3 separate regions of the Homo sapiens genome follow, and regions 1 and 2 are each linked to region 3. The links are contacts of gene promoters, found by promoter capture Hi-C in blood cells and fetal thymus (Javierre and others, 2016). All regions are on one chromosome and are shown on one strand. Each heading gives the region's core, a stretch centred on a gene start or on the middle of the fragment in contact. The rest is flanking DNA. Distances are from core to core; before and after follow the strand shown.

Region 1 (4,535 bases), core at 139-2,638, 2.1 Mb after region 3:
CATAAATCTAGTAGTGGCCATAATAATGATAGTAATAATTTATGTTCTGACTGCTTATGATGCATCAGGCATTGGATCATGTGTTTTTTTTTTTTTTTTTTGAGATGGAGTCTCGCTCTGTCCCCCAGGCTGGAGTGCGGTGACACAGTCTCTGCTCACTGGCGCGTCCGCCTCTGGGATTCAAGCGATTCTTGTGCTTCAGCCTCCTGAATAGCTGGGATTACAGGCGCCTGCCACCATGCCCGGCTAATTTTTATACTTTTAATAGAGACAGGGTTTCACCATGTTGGCCAGGCTAGTCTTGAACTCCTGAGCTCAGGTGATCCACCTGTCTCAGCCTCCCAAAGTGCTGAGATTACAGGCGTGAGCCACCGCACCCGGCCTAGATCAGGTTCTTTACATAGACTAAACAAACCATTTCCTTCTCCTAACAACGCTATGTAGTCAGTACCCTTGTCATCCCCCGTACACTTGAGGTAATTGAGGAATACAGGTTAAATTACTTACCCAGGGTTATACAACTTGTAAGTGGCAGAGCCAGGATCCAAACCCATTCTTGGCTCTAGAGCCCATCCTCTTCTCCACTACCGCACCTGAGACTTACTGTGTGTTAGGCATGGGGCTGACAGTGACACACTGGATCATTTAATCATCACAATGGCATTAGGAGGTAGCATTTTACAAACGAGCTAACAGACAGGCAAGGAGCAACCTGCAGATAAAGCAAATCCAGATATGTCTCCAGAGCCCGTGCCTTAATCGCAGATGCATTCTGACTTTCATCATAGGATTCTAATCGTGGATGAAAGTGACCCTGAGTTGTAGTGCCAGGCAGGTTGCTTAGGAAAATACTCTTCTGGTAACATGTTGGAGGGGCAGCCTTCTGAGGATGGTGTCAGATTCCCCTGTCCTCTGATTAGCTCCCTCTGCCAAGGTGCCCAGGCTCCTACTTCAGTGTCACCTCCAGGTTTCAAAGCATGGAAACCCAAGCATGTTACTCGGAGAAAGTCCCACCCCCAGCATGGGCGCATCGGCTTAGAACCCTCCAGGGTTAGCAGGCAAAGAGCTGTGGACCCCGGACACGGGAAAAGGCCACAGTCGGGAGAACTCCTGTTGCTGGAGGGCCAGGCGGGGGCGATCCCCAGGGCTCCCAGCTTTTAATGCTGTCACCGCGGGCCTTACTCCCTCCTCTTCCCCACATCGCCACCACTTGAATCAGTTCTTTTACAAAGTGGTTCTATTTCCTGGTGAGACAAAAAGGTTAGAAAAGGAAACCTAGAGGGGGTGGGGGAAAGACAGAGGTTCGGAATACCGGCGCGCAATCGCCATCTGGGTGGAGGGGACCCGCCTTCTTTTCTTCCGCCTGAGCGCAGCTCGGCTCCCGCCTCGGGGCGGGGCCTGTTGCTATGGAGCCCGGGCCCCGGCAGAGCCTGCGGGGTGAAAGCCCCTAGGGCTCCGCCTGGCATGCGTGGCCGGGGCTGTCTGAGATTTCCCCAGGTCGGTGGTTATGACCGCAGGATGGAATCGTAGAGGTCGGGTGATTTGGTCAGTAGAGAGGAACATTTGCGAGGTTCTCTCTGAATTACATGTTGGTCTAAAAGTAATCCACTATCTGGGACCGAGAGGAAAGCATGTGTGGAAGAGGCAGGCATTATTAGCAGCGCGTCCGCCTCGGCCACCTCCCTGCTCCCGCCTCGGCCACCTCCCTGCTCCCGCCCCGGCCCTGGGGGCCTCTGTTCAGCCTCCACCAGCTCAGTCGCCCACGGAGACTCCCGAACTCTTAAATCCCAGCCCTGTAGTCAAAACCACTGCATTAATTAAACAAGGTAAACTGGTGAGGCAAGCAGGAACTTGACACCGCCTTGAATTTAATTGTTAAAATGAGAAGTGTGGTAATGGAGCTCTGCTTAAGAGAAAAACAATACTTGATACCGATGTGCACATCGATGTGGACACGGATGCAATCAGGAACCCATAGTTAGCACCGGGAGATTACATTCCGGGTATACTCAAGATAGATAGAGTCAACTTTGAATTCTCGAGGCCAAGCAATGGGCGAAACAAAAGAGCTTTGTGTTTGCGTGCTTTTGCTTTTTGTTACAGTCAGAGCAGGACAAAGAATAATGAAGGAGTAGACATGTTATTACTTGGGCATTTAATAATCAGTGCATGGCAGAGCCTTGTGTTTTGCTTGTCTTTTTTTTTTTCTTTTCTTTTCTTTTTTAAAGACAGGGCCTCACTCTGTCACCCAGACTGGAGTACAGAGGCCCCATCTCAGCTTACTACAACCTCAGCTTCTTGGGTTCAAGTGATTCTCCTGCCTCAGCCTCCCAAGTAGCTGGGACTACAGGCACGCGCCACCATGCCTGGCTAATTTATGTATTTTTAGTAGTGACGGGGTTTTGCCATGTTGACCAGGCTGGTCTCGAGCGCCTGATCTCAAGGGATCTGCCCACCTTGGCCTCCAAAAGTGCTGGGATTACAGGCGTGAGCCACCACACCAGGCCTACTTCAGTCTTTTCTACAAAACTACAGAACTCCCTATCAAGAGTAATGCTAGAGAAGGAATATTAATGGGATGGTTTGTTAGTACCTAGAAAAAAAAGCATCCTGAGTTCCATAAGAATAAATGATACCAGACCAACCAAAATTCCTCCTTGGATAGGGTTGCTGGGCATGAATTTATGTCCAATATGAGTCAATATGAGAAAAGTGCCAGGACCTCAGAGGTAATTAATAGAAGGATAGAGCCTGGAGCAAGCAAAGTGATGGTCTTGCTCTGCTCTGTGCTGGGCAGATCCCACCTGGATATGTCTTCAGTTTGGGGCAGCTCCCTGTGGGAAACATACTGGGCAGGGAGTCAGGGGTGCTTGACCTGGGTCACCTTTACTGCAAATACAGCCCGGCTGCAAAGGGCTATCCTGATCCTTGAGACTCTGAGCTGAAGGCAGATAACTCAGTCCCCAGGAGTGATTTTGAGAGGTTCTGTTTGTGTCATTTATTTTTTTGTCACCAGTGCCTTGTATACCACCTGGCACACAATCACTTGTGCAATGTATAACATTAAAGGGTCATCTGAAGGCCAGGCCACTTCTGGTGTGAATTCTTGGGTTGGAACTGGGTCAGCTGGTTCCCAATTAATCTACTCCTATCCACATAACCCCAATAGGTTAAGGCCAACTTGCACCTTTTCTCTTTTAAGGATGCTTAAGAGAAAGTCCTTTCTGCTTCATTCACCATTACTTCCTGACAGTCCTGTTTGTCCTTAAAACCTCCCCCACAGCCACTAATGAATGATCCCAACCCCTAAACATAGGAGGCCTCACCAGGGCTACTGCCAGTAGAGAGGAAGGGGCTCGGCCTCTTGGGGTCCAAACCAAACCACTCAATCAAACTGACTACAGAGAGTCTGGACTGTCCAGAAGGAGCTTGGCTTTGAGGGCCACACCTGGAGTGCTGAACTGTGAAATCCATCATAACAATACTTCCTCTCCAGTTGCTCATGACTGAACTGAAGGCTGGAAATAATTACTTCTTACCATCTTCTTTCATAAAACCATTGGGCAATACTTTTCATAAAGTTTTTATGTTTGTTTTTCTTTATATCTTTAAAATTTTTTTCTACTTGACATGTTAATGAGGTACAGTGTGATGTTTCCATATGGATGCACATTGTGTAATAATTAAATCAGGGTACTTAGCATATGCATCACCTCATACCTTTATTATTTCTTTGTAGTGAGAACATTCAAAATTCTCTCTTCTAGCTATTTTGAAATATGCAGGCCAGGTGCAGTGGCTCATGCCTGTAATTTCAACACTTTGGGAAGCTGAGATGGGCATATCACTTGAGCCCAGGAGTTCTAGACCAGCCTGGGCAGCATGGCAAAACCCTGTCTCCATAAAAAAATACAAAAAATTAACTTAGCATGGTGGTACACGCCTGTAGTCCCAGCTACTGGGGAGACTAAGGTGGGAGGATTGCTTGAGCCCAGGAGGTCGAGCAGCAGTCACGCCACTGCACTCCCACTCCAGCTTGGGCAACAGGGTGACACCCTGTCTCAAAAAATACAAGTTAAAAAATGAAATCTACGATACATTATTGTTAACTGTAGTCACTCTACTGTACAATAGAACACCAGAACTTATTCCTTCTATCTAACTGTAGCTTTATATCTGTTGACTAATCTCTCCCTATCTGCCTCCTCCAACCCCAATAAAGCTTGTTGAAATCAGAGACACAGAAAATGAAATGATTGCATTAGGCAGCGTTTATAAGCTCCTGATTTGTTTGCCTCTTCTAGTTGGTTATATCTATCTCACACTGAAACACATCACCTCTCTACTTAGCTGGCTTTGTTCTACTCTGGAGTTGCCTGATTACTGTTCCTGTTCTTGCACATCCTGGGGCAGGTGACATACTGAAAGAGGAACGGTGCCAGCCACAAGACCTGGACTCTAGTTCACCTCTATTACATTATGGTTACTCCATCCTGGGCTGGTCACTTTACCTTTCTAAATCTCAATTTCCACTA
Region 2 (4,737 bases), core at 2,000-4,499, 2.0 Mb after region 3:
CAGAGTAAACAGACAACCTACAGAATGGGAGAAAATATTTGCAAACTATGTATCTGACAAAAGTCTAATATCCAGCATCTATAGGGAACTTAAACTTACAAGAAAAAAGCCATTAAAAAGTAGGCAAAAGAGGCTGGGCACAGTGGCTCATGCCTGTAATCCCAGCACTTTGGGAGGCCAGGTAAATCACTTAAGGCCAGTTCGAGACCAGCCTGGTCAACATGGTGAAACCCCATCTCTACTAAAAACACACACACACACACACACACACACACACACACAAACACACACAAAACAAAAATTAGCCAGGTGTGGAGGCACACACCTGTAATGCTAGCTACTTGGGAGGCTGAGGCATGAGAATCTCTTGAACCTGGGAGGTGAAGGTTGCAGTGAGCCAAGATCACACCACTGCACTCCAGCCTGGGCAACAGAGTGAGACTGTCAAAAAAAAAAAAAAAGAGAGAGAGAGAGAAAAAAAGTGGGCAAAGGACATGACACTTTTCAAAAGAAGACATACATGTGGCCAACAAGCATATAAAACAAAGTTCAACATCACTGATCATTAGAGAAATGCAAATCAAGACCACAATAAGATGCCATCTTACATGTCAGAGTGGCTATTATTAAAAGGTCAAAAAATAACACATGCTGGCAAGGTTGCAGAGAAAAGGGAATACTTACACATTGTTGGTGGGAATGTAAATCAGTTCAGCCATTGTGTAAAGCAGTGTGGTGATTCCTCAGAAAGCTAAAAATAGAACTACTGTTCAATCAACAATCTCATTCCTGGGTATACACCCAGAGGAATATAAATCATTCTACCATAAAGACACCTGCACATGAATGTTCATTGCAGCACTACTCACAATAACAAAGACATGGAATCAACCTAAATGTCTATCAATGACAGGCTGGATAAAGAAAATGCGGTACATATACACCGTGGCGTACTATGCAGCCATAACAAAGAATGAGATCATGTTCTTTGCAGGAACATAGATGGAGCTGGAAGCCATTATCCTTAGCAAACTAACGCAAGAACAGAAAACCAAATACTACATGTTCTCACTTCTAAGTGGGAGCTAAATGATGAGAACACATGGACCCAAAGAGAGGAACAAGAGACACTGGGGCCTACTTGAGGGTGGAGGGTGAGAGAAGGGAGAGGAGCAGAAAAAACAGCTATTGGGTACTACTCTTAGTACCTGGGTGACAAAATAATCTGTACAACAAACTCCTGTGACACAAGTTTAGCTACATAACTACCTACGCATATATCCCTGAACTGAAAATAAAAGTTACAAAAAGCAGAGATAACATGCAAACATATTTATAAATGGCTTGAAACCAATTAAGATTTAAAAAGTTTTTAAGGTAGGTCGGTTTGAACTGAATGCAAATTCCTGGAGCAACATAAGAAGTTGACTAACACGGTGAAACCCCATCTCTACTAAAAATACAAAAAATAAGCCGGGTGTGGTGGCAGGTGCCTGTAGTCCCAGCTACACGGGAGGCTGAGGCAGGAGAATGGCGTGAACCCGGGAGGTGTAGCTTGCAGTGAGCCGAAACTGCGTCACTGCACTCCAGCCTGGGCGACAGAGCGAGACTCCGTCCCCCCACAAAAAAAGAAGTTTTCTCTCCAAATCTTCCCTGGTCATCTCTCTGATTCCAAAGACCAATCAGGGAGGAGGTGAAATAGACAGTCCCAAAGAGTCCAAGAGAGGCTGGGGCATCCTGTGGGGGGTAGGATGGAGCAGAAGGAACCGGACACTAAGGATGAACCCAAGGGAGCAAGACAAGTTAATACCGGCTGAGACCCAAGAACAGGGGAAGTGCCAGAAAGGGCATCTGAGGCCAGGGATCAAGAGGAGATGGGGGAGCTGGAGAGGAGTGGAGGGTGCTGGGAAGGAAGGGAGGGCCCAGTGGGTCACTGCGCCACCCACTGAGGAGCAGCCAGAGGAATGATGGCAGAGTGCCCTGGACACCCTTAAAGGCACCAGGTGAAGGCCGGAAGTCTTAGAAGAAAAAAAAAAAAAGCTGCACACGTGGTGGGTGTCACACCCAAAAGGCAACAGACCTTGTCCAGGAGGTCACTCGTCTAGGACATTGTAGAAATGATTCACTGACCCAGGTTGGGCCAGATGAGCACACAGTCATTCCAAGCCCAGATCCTTGGATTCGGTGTTGCAGGGACAGTTAGGGCTCACATTGGAGAGGCACCTGCCTTGAGCAGGGCAGAGCGCAGGAGTGGGAAGGGAGCTGGGAGATGAGAAGGCTGAGCTGGAGGGGAATGGGGTCTCACACCTACTGGGAGCCAGAGGCAACCATGAGAATCTCTCCAAATACTCCTATCAGAGAGAGGGGAAACAAGTATTTGAGAAGTGCGTTAGGACCAATTTTCTTCCTTTTTTTCTTCAGATCATGAAAGTGACAGACATTCATCATCCTTTTGGAAAATACAGTAAAGTAGGAGGAACATACAGATTTCCCTTACTCGTATCCACACAGGACTGTTGTTCTTTTCATGTATAGTCTATTTCCAGGTGTCTGTATGCCTGTGGATAAACGTTTGTTCATTAGTTAGCTGGGTTGGGATCATCTGGTAGGATTTTTGCACTTAACTACCTGCTATAGTCAGAATGTTTGCGTCCCCGCCACATTCATATGTTGAAACCTAACCCCCAAGGTGGTGGTATTAGGAGTGGGTGCTACTGGGCGGTGATTAGGTCATGAGGGCAGAGCTCTCAAGCATGGGTTTAGTGTCCCTCGAGAGGAGGCCCTGGAGAACCCCTGGCCCCTTCTACCAGGTGAGGACACAGGGAGAAGGTGTCACCTGTGAACCAGGAAAAAGGTCCTCACTAGACACTGAATCAGCCGACACCTTGATCTTGGCCCCCACCCCTTCCAAAACTGTGAAAAATAAATTTGTTTATAAGCCCCCATGTTTATGGCACGGTGTCATGGCAGCTGCCCAAACAAACCAAGACACTATCTGTTGTGAGCATTTTCCCGTGGTTTTCAACCGCATAATTTGTAATGGTCGCATAGCCTCCCATCATATGAATGTATTGTAATTTATTTAACAGATTGCTTATTGTTAGACATGCATTAATATAAATCCTGAGATATAATCTGGGCATCAATCTAGACAAACGAGCTCCAAAGCTTTAGTTTAGCTCTGCCCTTAGGGCAGTATTGGAAGCTGTAAAGACAGCTGTGAGCTGGAGCAGTCCCGAGGCACCCGCATGCAGGTGTGCCGGGAAAGCCTGTGGTGGCCCAAAAGGCGTCATCAGCTGTCAGAGGGAGCAGTCTTCAAAGGCCAACAATCAAGCTTAGTGCCAGGAAGCACAGCTCCTGCACATGGCCCGCAGCCCTCTCAGGACAGAAGAACTGGGTGCAGCAGGCCTCACGTGCCTACTGGCGGGGTCCCAGGAGAGGTCCTATAGCTTCCATCCAGCTGTCCCCACACCCTGCTCCGCTCTGCTCTCTCCATGCCCCCACCCCGTGGAGCATAGCCCCTTCTCACCACACCCAGCCCTGCTGTGGTCCGCATGCTCCCACCTCTTCGGCCCCTTCCTTGCTTGGCCCTGGTGTCTGTGTGGACTGAAGGCCAACTGTTCCCTGGGACTCTGGTCACCTTGGAGCCCCCACCCCTACTGCCATTTCCAAATTACATCTCTCTCTTTTTTCTCTAGAACCCACAGCTTATGTGAAGCTGTGCCATTCAGCTCCACCACATCCTGCCTTTCCTCATGATGGTCCTTACCAACCTCTGATTATCCCATTCATTAAAAACTCTAGTTCTGCCTCACTACCTTCTCCTCCACATTTCCTCTGATTTTTACATCCGTATGGAGGAGCTGACCAACACTAGAGCTTCTAAGTCTCAGTAGCAGTTCCCTAGGGCCGCTGAAACAAATTGCTTCAAATCGGTGGCTTAGCATAACAGAAATTGATTATCTCACAGATCTAGAGGCTGGAAATCCAAAATCAAGGCATGGACAGGGCCACAGTGCCTCTGGAGGCTTTGGGCGAACTCTTCCTGGCCTCTTCCAGCTTCTGGTGGTTCCTTGGCCTGTGACTGTGTAACTCCAATCTCTTCACTTGGTCTTCTCCTGTGTCTGTGTGTCTGTCTCCCCTTCTTTCTATTACAAGGACACTTACTGGATTTAGGGCCCACATGGCTAATCCAGGATGATCTCATCCATTGATCTTTAATTGAATTATATCTGCCAAGACTCTTTTTCCAAATAAAATTATAGTCACAGGGTCGCAAGTTCCAGGACACTGACATATCTTTTTGGAGCCCACCATTCAACTGAACTCAGTGCCTTATCCTGTTTCCCACCTGAGCCACTCTAGTCTCATGGTCACACCGTAGACCTTGTCATAACAAGCATCTCAGCCACCTTTAAATTATCGATCTCAGACATCCTCCCAGCTCTCTTGTGCTCTAGGACTCTAGCCCAAGGGCTCTCATTCACTGACGTCCCTGCCTGTGCGTTTTCTGTCATTCCTTCCCTCATTGTTGCCCTCCTTACTCAGCTCAGACTGCAAGTTGCCTCATTACAACCTCTCCCTGGCAGAATTCCTCAACCCCTTGCTTCTCTCTTCTCTAAGTCATACTTATCCTGCAAAACCTCAACCTTGGCTGATTCTAGTATTGACTTGGATGCACAGCTGACCACAACAGGAAAAGTCACACTGTCGGGCTGACTGGTTTCACTTTAAGTT
Region 3 (4,437 bases), core at 622-3,121:
CTATCAAGCCGGGCTAATTTTTTTTTATTTTTAGTTGAGATTAGGTCTTGTAATGTTGCCCAGGCTGGTATCAAACTCCTGAGCTCAAGAAAACCTCCTGCCTTGGCCTCTTAAAGTGCTGAGATTACAGGCATGAGCCACCACCTGGCCAAATTAACCATCTTAATCATCTTTTTAAAAAAGAGATGGGGTCTCACTATGTTGCCCAGGCTGGAGTCCTACTCCTAGCCTCAAGTGATCCTCCTGCCTCTGCCTTCCGAATACCTGGAACTAGCGGCCTGAGACACCTGGCAGGGCTACCTTAACCTTTTTTAAGTGTAGAGTTCAGTAGTGTTAAGTACATTCATACTATTATGAAACTAAGACTTTGAATTTATCCTCCAGGCAACTGAGATTTATGGAATTACTGAAAGATTTCAGGACCCTACTAGAGGTTTAGGAAGGTTGTCTTGGGGGGTGGGTGTAGTGGGAGGTAGGGGATGGAGGCTAGCAGGACTGGAAGGGATTGTAAGTTTAAAAGCTTGCAGGGGGCCTTGTAAGTAAGGGTTGGTTTTGGCTTGGTCACAGGGTTTTCTGCCAGAGGGGAAGTTAGAGAAGGGAACTCAACACACCACTGGCTGAGTACCAAGCCTGTATGGGCCAGATGCTTTCCGAGGGCTGCACACTTGAGCTAGCCAGCCACACCTTGCCAGGATGTGCTCTGTTAACCCCTACAGTTAAAAAAAATGGGGGAGGCGGGTTTGGATTAGTTGCAAAAATGGAAACATTTGGAGATCTCACTTTTTTTTTTTTGACGCAGTTTCACTCTTGTTGGCCAGGCAATGGCGCGATCTCGGCTCACTGCAACTTCCGCCTCCTGAGCTCAGATTCTCGTGCCTCAGCCTCCCGAGTAGCTGGGATTACAGGCACCCACCCGGCTAATTTTTTGTATGTTTAGTAGAGACGGGGTTTCACTATGTTGGCCAGGCTGGTCTCGAACTCCTGAGCTCAGGCGATCCGCCCGCCTCAGCCTCCCAAAGTGCTGGGATTACAGGCGTGAGCCACCGCGCCCGGCCAACGCCCTGCTAATTTTATCATTTTCTTGTAAAGACGGGGTCTGGCTGTGTGGCCCAGGCTAGTCTCCAATTCCTGGCTTCAGTTGATTCCCCTGCCTCAGCCTCTTAAAGTGCTGGGATTACAGGTGTGAGCCAACGAGTTCGGTCTCACTCTATTTTAAAAAAACCTTTTAATCAATATATAACAGACATATAGAAAAGGACACAAATAAGCGTAGAGCTTAGTGAATGTTCACAAAGCAACAACACCTGAGATGAACCAGCATCCACATCAACAAGCAGAACGTCGCTAGCATCTCTGGAGTGATGCTCATTTAGCCCTATGAAACCTCATGAAGCCGACCGTTTTATCACCCCCATATTACGCATGAGGAAACAAGCGTGGAGAGGTCGGTCTCAAGCAAAGCCCTGTTGAAACCGGCATTTGAATCAGATCCGCTGACTGACTCCAAAGCCAATGCTCTCAAAAAGCAGGTTTGGGGGTTAGACGGTGAGTTCAGCTTTGAACGATGTTGAGTGGGCGTCTCGTTTTACAGAAACTTACTTCCCGACGTCACAGCCACAGAAACCACAGGTAACCAGACGCCTGCACGTCAGGCCACCGACGCCTTGGTCTACACAGCGCAGCCTCCAGTGAGCCCGCGGCATGCCGCGCGGCCTCCCCACACACGATGGCGATGTCGCAACCACAGTAGAAAGAGTGGCGCTCTCTACTGTCCCGGAATTCTTGAGGCCGGAAGAATAACAGGGCAAAGGTCACGTAGACGGCGCGCCCCGCCCCCGTACGCCTAAGTTCTCGCGCGACTCCCACTTCCGCCCTTTTGGCTCTCTGACCAGCACCATGGCGGTTGGCAAGAACAAGCGCCTTACGAAAGGCGGCAAAAAGGGAGCCAAGAAGAAAGTGTAAGTCGCGACTGTCGTGGCGTCTTGCTTTTTGGGGGTCTGCTGGAATCGGCGGGCTGGTCCTAGATCGCGGCGTAGGCCGGATGGCGAGGATTCCAGTCGGATTGTGCGGGCCGTGGCGGGTTGGTGCACCCAGGAACGCGGCCTGGAGGGTCGGTGTTGAGTAGCGGCAGGTCGGCTGCCTTTCCCAGGCCTTCTGGTCCTTGCGCGCGTCGCGTTTGAGCCGGCTTGCCGGCGCGACTCGGCTGGAATGTTAGTTTTGTGGGCTCACGAGCTGCCTCAATTCTGCGAGTGTTTGATGGCACTGCGACAGCAGGAGTTGAGGAAAGCACCCTTCTATCCATTCAGGACCCGTCAATCTCGCCTTTGCTTGGTCCCGCTGGAATCTGCGAGCTCCTGCTAAGCTTTGGGGCCATGCAGTCTCTTAGTTACCAGTACATGCCATTACGTGCCAGCAAAGTTAATGAGATTGCATGTTACTCGTGCCTGTGTAGTGGAAGGACCGATGCATGTTATTCTAAGTGCCTGTGTAGTGGATGGACCGATGAGGGTGGGAAGTGGACATAACCTTTCAAAGTCTGATGCATGCAGTGAAACGTACAGTGGGAAGAGCTAGATTTATGTTTGTTCCCCTCACCTCACTGTGAGATATACTTTGGTATCAAATTGCCGGTTAGCTTTTTAAAATATTAATGGGAAATACCATTAACAGTGAAAAATACAGTAAGAATTGATCTGCAATGGAACTTAAGCATCTTCTTAAAATCCAGGGTTGATCCATTTTCTAAGAAAGATTGGTATGATGTGAAAGCACCTGCTATGTTCAATATAAGAAATATTGGAAAGACGCTCGTCACCAGGACCCAAGGAACCAGTAAGTAGCTTATTCTTGGTTTGTATTTTCCTTAAGTTGGCGCTTGTATATTGTAGCAGGCATCTTGGTCTGTTGTTGGTCCTGTGGTGGGAGACTTTAAGGAAATGTCAGCTCTTGGTTGCAGCCTTGGCACCTGTGGTGATCATTTTTAGTACAGCACTTGGAGAGAAGCAAGATGGTGCTTTTTGAATTAAGAAAATGTGCCATGGGTAGTTCTGAGCTTCAAATAAGTACTGTTGATAAGTCACTGGTGTCTGGATAGATTTGATAACAAAGGTTAAGGTCTTTATAATTTACCATTAACTTAATTTCTACCCTCAGTTTACAGGCTTGACTTTGCTTATATGGTTCCTAAATGTTAAGATACTTGTTTTTTTCTTTTGTAGAAATTGCATCTGATGGTCTCAAGGGTCGTGTGTTTGAAGTGAGTCTTGCTGATTTGCAGAATGATGAAGTTGCATTTAGAAAATTCAAGCTGATTACTGAAGATGTTCAGGGTAAAAACTGCCTGACTAACTTCCATGGCATGGATCTTACCCGTGACAAAATGTGTTCCATGGTCAAAAAATGGCAGGTGAGACCCAAAGTTCCTTAGAGTGGTTGTGCTATGGGTGTTTGACCAAGGATAGCATGGTTTGATGACTGGAAGGAGCAAGTTCATTTTATTTATTTATTGAGACCAGTGAAATGTCCACAAAGTTCATTTTAAATTTTTGTTTTCTTGCCGTTGTTGAGTGCTAACTCTGGGGTTGCCACACCATATTTTACTTACTATTTAAATCTAAGATTTAATAGTGGTGTATCATCAAAGTCAGATTTTCTTGCTGCATAGATTAGTGGTTTTTTGAGGAACGTTTAGGTGCAGGTGGGCGGTTTTGCCTGTCTTAAGGATGTTTTTTGACCTCAGAATTGAGTGAATGTTGATTAACTGTGGCAGTAGAGCATAATTGTGGCAGAGCCTCTGGAGTGAGGTTAAAATCTGGGCTCCATTTGCCTATTGTGTTCTCGTTGGAAAGTAACTTGTTTTCTAAGCCTCGGTTTCTTTATTTGTAAAGTGCAGATAAGAGTGTCATTTTATTGAATTGTGAGGATGAAATGAAAATATTTCAGATGTGTCTGGCTAACTATCCAGTTGGAATATTTTGTGGGAGTTTTTTGTTTTTGGGAGATTGAGTCTCTTATCGTCCGGGCTGGAGTGCAGTGGCGCCATCTCTGCTCACTGCAACCTCCTCCTCCTGGGTTCAAGGGATTCTCATGCCTCAGCCTCCCAAGTAGCTGGGATTACAGGCACCCGCCACCACGCCCAGCTAATTTTTGTATTTTTAGTAGAGACAGGGTTTCACCATATTGGCCAGGCTGGTCTCGAACTCCTGACTTCAAGTGATCTGCCCGCCTCAGCCTCTCAAAGTGCTGGGATTACAGGTGTGAGCCACTGCACCTGGCACAGTTCGAATATTTTGTATGTGGGAATGAATGATGACAAAATGTTTCAGTCCCAAATGATACATACTGATTATACCATTATATTTATCCTGACATTCCTCTAAGGCTTTATGGTTTACATTTCTAGAAATATTTTAAGGTCCCTTAGCTGTAAATTGTATT

Evidence for each region. The method cuts DNA at HindIII sites, captures the fragments that hold promoters and counts their contacts. A CHiCAGO score of 5 or more calls a contact.
Region 1: a fragment that was not itself captured here is called in contact with the fragment with the promoter of RPS3A in region 3 in 1 of 17 cell types (non-activated CD4 T cells); the score reaches 7.3 in non-activated CD4 T cells.
Region 2: a fragment that was not itself captured here is called in contact with the fragment with the promoter of RPS3A in region 3 in 5 of 17 cell types (fetal thymus, naive CD4 T cells, naive CD8 T cells and 2 more); the score reaches 11.2 in fetal thymus.

What each region holds. Positions count from the first base shown.
Region 1 is chr4:153,247,913-153,252,447 of GRCh38, forward strand. The region is part of intron 1 of TRIM2 (tripartite motif containing 2); the gene reads left to right. It overlaps LOC105377496 (a long non-coding RNA gene), which reads right to left and starts at 627. Exons shown (of 3, transcript XR_939360.4): 1 at 508-627. RefSeq lists an enhancer at 1,770-1,819. The HindIII fragment of the contact is 5,663 bases long and covers 1-4,220 here.
Region 2 is chr4:153,108,890-153,113,626 of GRCh38, forward strand. No RefSeq gene overlaps it. Among named protein-coding and RNA genes, the nearest start is that of TRIM2, 93 kb to the right of the region's middle. RefSeq lists an enhancer at 3,382-3,881. The HindIII fragment of the contact is 166 bases long and covers 3,167-3,332 here.
Region 3 is chr4:151,097,757-151,102,193 of GRCh38, forward strand. RPS3A (ribosomal protein S3A) reads left to right here and starts at 1,872. Exons shown (of 6, transcript NM_001006.5): 1 at 1,872-1,958; 2 at 2,729-2,832; 3 at 3,219-3,406. The coding sequence starts at 1,897. It overlaps SNORD73B (small nucleolar RNA, C/D box U73B), which reads left to right and starts at 4,301; the gene lies at 4,301-4,375. RefSeq lists enhancers at 782-851, 1,129-2,328, 1,627-2,211, 1,632-2,191, 2,212-2,795. The HindIII fragment of the contact is 1,842 bases long and covers 519-2,360 here.